Linked DNA regions of Homo sapiens: region 2 is linked to region 1. The links are contacts of gene promoters, found by promoter capture Hi-C in human tissues and cell types (Jung and others, 2019). All regions are on one chromosome and are shown on one strand. Each heading gives the region's core, a stretch centred on a gene start or on the middle of the fragment in contact. The rest is flanking DNA. Distances are from core to core; before and after follow the strand shown. Region 1 overlaps LINC02210-CRHR1 (LINC02210-CRHR1 readthrough). Region 2 holds the start of SPATA32 (spermatogenesis associated 32).

Region 1 (3,679 bases), core at 1,033-3,532:
TACTTACTTTGACTCACCAGCTCCAGTGTCACAGTGTGGGAAAGGCTGTAGTGGGTGTGCCGTGAAAAGGCAAGGCGTACTGCCAGGGCCTAAGGCTGGGACAGCACATCTCAGTTTGTCTTCCATAAACACACCCTAGGAGTTTCAATAGAAACTCTGCTAAAATTGATGAGGAAAGAGATTTCAAGAAGTTCAATACATTCAGAAGCACATGACTATCCTCTCCTCCTTCCAAAGCAAGTTCTTTATCGTCTGAGCAATCAATAAGTGTTTAACGAGGCCTGGCACTGTATTAGGTAAGCTGTAGCATAAATACAAAAGTGTAAGACACAGTCCCTGCCCATTTGAGGCGTACAATCTAAATATTTCTCAGAGGCCGGGTGCGGTGGCTCACACCTGTAATCCCAACACTTTGGGAGGCCGAGGCAGGCGGATCATGAGGTCAGGAGTTCAAGACCAACCTGGCCAACGTGGTGAAACCCTGTCTCTACTAAAGATACAAAAATTCGCCGGGCGTGGTGGAGGGCGCCTGTAATCCCAGCTACTCAGGAGCTTGAGGCAGGAGAATCGCTTGAACCCAGGAGGCAGAGATCACACCATTGCACTCCAGCCTGGGCAACAAGAGCAAGACTCTGTTTCAAAAAAATAACATAACATAACATAACATAACATAACATAACATAACATAACATAACATAAATAACATAAATAACATAAATAAAATAAAATAAAATAAAATAAAACAAATATTTCTCAGAAATTACTCCATGGTTAAAAAGCAAATCTGGACTTAGTTGCCAGTATTGCAATGAACATTCTTTAAATTCAATATTTTGAAGAAAAACATGATACCACACATTTATCATGGAATGAAATTTTTTCCTAGTAATATAAACTTCATTGTTATGAATAAATAAGGTTTGCTTCAGTTAAAATTCACCTGACATGGCCCTCCTGTATAATTTTTTATTTAATTTTATTTTTAAAATTTTATTTAAAATTTATTATATTAAATTTGGGACAGGTTCTTGCCATGTTGCCCAGGCTGATCTCAAACTCTGGGCTCAAGCGACTCTCCCACCTTGGCCTCCCAAAGTGCTGGGATTACAGGCATGAGCCACTGTGCCTGGCCAATCTTCTATAATTCGAATAAATATTTCTTGAAAAAGTAGTTTTAGAAGGTTAAATAGGCCAGGCGTGGTGGCTCACGCCTATAATCCCAGCACTTTGGGAGGCCGAGGCAGGTGAATCACTTGAGGTCAGGAATTAAAGACCAGCCTGGCCAACATGATGAAACCCTGTCTCTACTAAAAATACAAAATTTAGCTGGGCGTGGTGGCGGGCGCCTATAGTCCCAGCTACTCAGGAGGCTGAGGCAGGAGAATCGCTTGAACCCGGGAGGCAGAGGTTGCTGTGAGCCAAGATCACGCCACTGTACTCTAGCCAGGGTGATAGAGCAAGACTCCATCTCAAAAAGAAAAAAAAAAAGAAGAAAAAGTTTAAATAGAAGTGCTTAGGTACTAATATGGCCAACAATTGTCTGGACAAACGAGCTCTAGGCTACTTAGTGAACCTCCTCTCCGGGATATTTTTATTAATATTTGGAGAACAACATAAAACACATTTCCAAGTGGTTCATGAGATGCCATGGCCATCCAAAAGAGGGAGGCAATGCGCCGGAGCTTGGTCTTGACAAGAGATATTTTCCATAGCAAAATTTACCACTAACTCGAGGGCAATACCAGGTGGGCTGGGAATCTCACATCTCCCAAATTAGCCTCTTGATTCTGTCACAAACTTTCAGAACTCAAAGGCTTGTGGTTCTGGGAATGGAAACTAACCAAACATCATCTGGACTGAGACAGCCAAACCTGGAGACAGCGCCATCCCAAAAGTGAACCGTCTGCTTCATGGGAAGAACATTTATCTCAGAGCAGGGAGGGATGTAGCAGCTGCAGTCGCAGGGGACCGAGACCCAAGACGGTGATGCCCAGAGCACAAACACGACCCTCCACTGGCCTGTGGGGCTCTGGGAAAGAGCTTCGGCCTCACACTGGGTCACCTCCCCACAGGGTCCCCATCTGGCAAATAAGGGAAGGAACTAGCATAAGGAAAAGGCTGGATACCTTCCTAGTGTTATGAAGTATTGATATGCCAGTGAAAAAGCTCACGGATGTCTTTAAATAAAGCGTCTTACATCAGGAACTCTGGGCTACAATATAGTTTCAGGGAAAAGTTCCAATCTGAGCCTCTTTGCACCTGCAATAAGCAAATACCTTTTCTTTCCTGAGGATCATTTGCTTAAAGCACTGAAGAGTGAGCTGCTAGCTGCAGCAGTGGTGGTAAAGAATGACGATTTCTCGGTAGCGCAGTGGCTCATGCCTGTAATCCCAGCATTTTGGAAGGCTGAGGTGGGTGGATCCCTTGAGCTCAGGAGTTACAGACCAGCCTGGGCAACATGGCAAGACCCTGTCTCCACAAAAAATACAAAAATTAGCCAGGTGTGGTGGTGCACACCCATAGTCTCAGCTACTCAGGGGGCTGAGGTGGGAGGATTGCTTGAGCCCGAGAGACGGAGGTTGCAGTGAGCTGAGATCGCACCACTGCACTCCAGCTTGGGCGACAGAGTGGGAGGCTGTTTCAAAAAAAATTTTTTTAATAAAAAATAAATAAACATGAAAAGGTACAGTAAAAATATGGTTTTAAAAAAAAAAGAATGACAATTCCTTCCTTTTTACGAAAGGATGCCAAAGACTAACAGGACTCCAGACGCCAGACCAGGATTGCAACAGCTGAACTCAGTCCCCGCTCCAACTCGCCTCCATGAAGCCCGCTCTGGCCTTCGAGCACCAGCAAGCCCTCTGGACTTCTCCATCAATTGCAAAAATGATCATCAAAGCTACTGAAATGGAAGGTGGTGTTTAAAACTTAACACTGGGTTTCTTAAAATGTAACACTGCTTTTCTTATGGCATGGATAAGGCACTGTGAGAAAGCTGCCTCCACTCCCAGCACACACGTACACGTGCACACAGCAGAGGCTAGCTGATGTGGCCACAAGGCACAAAGAATAGATCCTTCTGATCAGTTCTGGTTCTGGAACTGGTTGGCGAGCCAGTTCAGGCCTTCGTAAAGCCCATGTCCAGTAGTGGCACAAGTAGCCTGAATGTGCCAGTTTCTGTAGCGGAGGGAATGGAGGCCGAGCTTGTCCGTTATCTCTGCCGCGTTCATAGTATTAGGGAGATCCTTGAAAAAGAACATTCAAAAGTCAATGTATACTGTTGTATCCATATAGCGAAATATGCTCTTCCCTGTTAAACGTGCCCAAACCCACAGTCTTCTCTGTTGATGGCAACTCCAACCTTCCAGTTGCTCAGGCCAAAAAGCTTGAAATTATCCTTACTTTTTTACTCTCAATGTCACAGCCAATCTGTCAGGAACTCCTAACGGTTCCACTATCAAAATTTATCCAGAATCTGACCACTTACTAACTCCACAGCTGTCGCCGTGATCTGACACCACATCGCTTCTCACCTGGATGACTGAAATAACTTCCTAACTGTCCTCCCTACTTCTCTGCTCTTGCTCCCGTGAAGCCTATTCTCAACCCAGCCATCGGTGAATCAGATTGAATCATTCTTCTATCAAAACTGCAACAGCTCCCCCTCTCTCAGGATACG
Region 2 (3,679 bases), core at 818-3,317, 380 kb after region 1:
CCCGCCCGTAGGTTAAGGGGGCCCTCTAAACCCCTTGCCTGGCCTCACCTGGCCAGCTCACCCCTTTTGGGTGTAGGGGAAAAGAATGCCTGACCCTGGGAAGGCTCCCTGGTAGAATACACCACACTTTTCAGGTTGTTGCAACACAGGTCCTGAGTTGACCTCTGGTTCAGCCAAGGACCAAAGAAGGTGTGTAAGTGAAGTGGTTCTCAGTCCCCAGACATGTGCCCCTTTGCTGCTGGCTACCACTCTTCCCCAGAGCAGCAGGCCCCGAGCCCCTTCAGGCCCAGCACTGCCCCAGACTCGCTGGCACTCAGTTCCCTCATCTGTAAAGGTGAAGGGTGATGCAGGATATGCCTGACAGGAACAGTCTGTGGATGGACATGATCAGTGCTAAGGAAAGCAGCAGAGAGAGACGCTCCGGCGCCCCAGCCCCACTATCAGTGTCCAGCGTGCTGGTTCCCCAGAGCACAGCTCAGCATCACACTGACACTCACCCTGCCCTGCCCCTGGCCAGAGGGTACTGCCGACGGCACTTTGCACTCTGATGACCTCAAAGCACTTTCATGGCTGCCCTCTGGCAGGGCAGGGCAGGGCAGTGACACTGTAGGAGCATAGCAAGCCAGGAGATGGGGTGAAGGGACACAGTCTTGAGCTGTCCACATGCATGTGACTCCTCAAACCTCTTCCAGATTTCTCTAAGAATAGCACCCCCTTCCCCATTGCCCCAGCTTAGCCTCTTCTCCCAGGGGAGCTACTCAGGACTCACGTAGCATTAAATCAGCTGTGAATCGTCAGGGGGTGTCTGCTAGCCTCAACCTCCTGGGGCAGGGGACGCCGAGACTCCGTGGGAGAAGCTCATTCCCACATCTTGCCAAGACAGCCTTTGTCCAGCTGTCCACATTGAGTCAGACTGCTCCCGGGGAGAGAGCCCCGGCCCCCAGCACATAAAGAACTGCAGCCTTGGTACTGCAGAGTCTGGGTTGTAGAGAACTCTTTGTAAGCAATAAAGTTTGGGGTGATGACAAATGTTTCCAGGCCATCGGTGTCCTCTCTCTTGCCTGCCGGCCTGCTGAACCTCACGACCCTAACAGCTGCCTCTCTTTGCCTTCTTGCTGAGATCTTTTCAAGTCCCCCTTGTTTTGGACAAGGACTGTTTCAGCCCTTGAGTGGGGCTGCTTTCCCACCACTCCTCCCAGTGGCTGCTTCTAGTCCCAACGCTGGGCTAGTCATTCAGACCAGTTAGGCAAGATACCTTGCCCGGTGGCATCAGGGAAGTCCCTCGCCAAAATATGCCAGGCTGAGGGGTGGAGGAGGAGGACAACAAAGCCTGCATGCTTTGTGCCACTGCCCAAGTTAGGCAGCCCCCTACCACCAGAAGGGAAATAGGGATGGGTTCTGGGCCCTGACCATCCAGGGATGCCGGATGCACACCACAGGCCCTCCACCCTCCCCTCCTGTCCTTGAGGCCTGGACTCTTAACCCTTTCCGCTGCCTCCTGAGCCCTGCATGGGGCCAGGGATGCCTTTGTGGGCTGAGTTCCTTGGTCATGGAGCTGGGGCACACGGGGTGCTGAGTTCCTTGGTCATGGAGCTGGGGCACACGGGGTGCTGAGTTCCTTGGTCATGGAGCTGGGGCACACGGGGTGCCTTATCGAATCTGGCTCCACACTCCCTGTGTGCACAAGTGTGTGTGCGCGCGGCTTGGGTTGGTTTAGCCGGTTCTTGGAAGGGCCCTGGGACCACGAAAAGGGCGGCAGCCCTGAGCCGCTGGCGTGCAGAGCGGGTGCAAGTCCTGTCCAGCACAGCCAGGCTTACCTGCCGCCTGCCTCTCGCTCTAGGCCCGCTGCGGAAGCGCGAGCCCCACCCCCGAGGTCTTCGGAGAGGAAGGAGTTCTGGCTTCGGGCCCGCAGCCTTCGGAGGACGCCTCACTCGGGCCGTCCCCCGTCCGCCCGCCCGAAACCTAAATGCGGCTCCCTGCCTGTGGGGTCGCGGCGGGGACGTCACAGAGGCGGCGACATCACAGGCACCGGCGCCTCTAATATTTCCAGCGCCCACCAGTCCCTCAGCCAAAGAGCACACTGGAGGCGGAGAGGCAGCATCCACCAGCCCGCTCCCCGCCTCCAGGACAGAGCCTCGGTCTGCATGGGGGTGACAGGTGGGAGCGGCCGAGCGCCCGGGGGCGAGGGTTGGGGCAGGCGGGGAAAGCGAAAGTGAGAGGGGGAGGGGCGCGAAGGGGGCGGTCAGGAATCCGCCCAGGGCCCGTTCCCCTGCTCCCAAACCCCCGGCACCTGAAAGGCAGGTCGACCCGCCGCCAAAGCCCACCCGGTGCCCCTGACTACGGCTCCCAGCCTCAGCCCCTGCGCGGTGCACACCCATGTGCTCTCACGGACACGCATGCGCGCCTTGGAGTAGGGACTGCAGAGTCAGTGGTTCTTGAAGGGGTTCTGAGACCACAGAAGGAGCAATGGCCTTGTGCACAGGAAACGACTCATGAATTATCCTGAACTGCAGATCCAAAAAATCACATCCAGTTGTCCCTCCTTGATGCTTGAGGCTTTGCAGGGAGGAGCGGCAGTCTTCAGCACATTTTTACGGAGCGCTTCGTTGATGCCTTGTACTCTTCTCTGAACCAATGAGCAAAGATGTTTGCCCCCAGTGCCCTGTGTCTCCCCTTCCCATAGGGGCGTCAGATCCCCCACTGAAATGGTGGCTTTCTTTTGGGGATCCTCTCTCCCAGAAGGGCATGGGCCAGCATTAAAAACGGTCAAAAATTAGGTGGGCATGATGGCTCAACGCCTGCAATCCCAACACTTCGGGAGGCAGAGGTGGGAGGATCACATGAGGCCAGGAGTTCAAGATCAGCCTAGGCAACATAGCGAGACTTTGTCCTCTACAGGAAATGTTTAAAATTAGACAGGTGTGGCGGCATGAGCCTGTAGTCCCAGCTACTTGGGAGGCTGAGCTGGGAGGCTCACTGGAGCCCAGGAGTTGCAGTGAGCTATGATGCTGCCACTCCAGCCTGGGCCACAGAGCAAGACCCTGTCAAAAAAAAAAAAAAAAAAACCAGAGGTCGGGTGCAGTGGCTCACGCCTGTAAGGTAAAACGTAGATTAGACAGCCAGGTCTGTCATGGAGAGGATTACACTGATTATTTGAATTGGGCTTTCAGGCATGAGTAGGACTTTGCCAGAAGAAGGCTTTCCAGGTATAAGAAATAGCATTTGCAAAGGCACTGGGTGCAGAAAGGCCTGCGGTACTCTGGGGGTAGCTTCGGCTTAGGGTGAGGGACAGGAAGCTGGATGCCAAGAGATGAAAAATGAAGGTAGAGATCAGACCAAGAGGCCACATGGAGTCTGGGGGTAACCGGAGACAAGTGAGATGTAGCAGGCTCACTCTGAGGTCATTGAAAATCCAGGTTGGAGGGGGACATAGTTGCAGTGGTCCCACTGGAAGACTAAAGAGATTTAAGACAGTGCAGTGAGTAGCATCCCAGAGTTTGGAGCCAGCCAGACCTGCCTTTGGGTCGTGTGCTGCTCTTAATAGCTGCATGACCTCATACACGTTTCCTCATCTGTGAGAGGAGAGCCGTGGCCAACTGGGCATAGGGTAGGTATGAAGACTGAATGTGCAAAGCACTCAGCACCAAGTGCCAAAGGGTAGGAAGTCATGGGTGTGTGC

What was found. The method cuts DNA at HindIII sites, captures the fragments that hold promoters and counts their contacts. A contact is called where the count stands out against the background at its distance.
Region 2: a contact is called between the fragment with the promoter of SPATA32 here and a fragment that was not itself captured in region 1, in 2 of the 25 tissues and cell types used here (dorsolateral prefrontal cortex and lymphoblastoid cells).

What each region holds. Positions count from the first base shown.
Region 1 is chr17:45,635,849-45,639,527 of GRCh38, reverse strand. All of the region lies in intron 3 of LINC02210-CRHR1 (LINC02210-CRHR1 readthrough), which reads right to left. All of the region lies in intron 5 of LINC02210 (long intergenic non-protein coding RNA 2210), which reads right to left. It also overlaps the pseudogene ARF2P. Among named protein-coding and RNA genes, the nearest start is that of LINC02210-CRHR1, 17 kb to the right of the region's middle. The HindIII fragment of the contact is 6,431 bases long and covers 1-3,679 here.
Region 2 is chr17:45,260,482-45,264,160 of GRCh38, reverse strand. SPATA32 (spermatogenesis associated 32) reads left to right here and starts at 2,067. Exons shown (of 5, transcript NM_152343.3): 1 at 2,067-2,157. The coding sequence starts at 2,145. MAP3K14 (mitogen-activated protein kinase kinase kinase 14) reads left to right here. Exons shown (of 16, transcript NM_003954.5): 16 at 1-1,042. The region is part of intron 2 of MAP3K14-AS1 (MAP3K14 antisense RNA 1); the gene reads right to left. RefSeq lists enhancers at 1,026-1,629, 2,064-2,153, 1,630-2,235 and silencers at 2,184-2,233, 2,304-2,423. The HindIII fragment of the contact is 11,872 bases long and covers 1-3,679 here.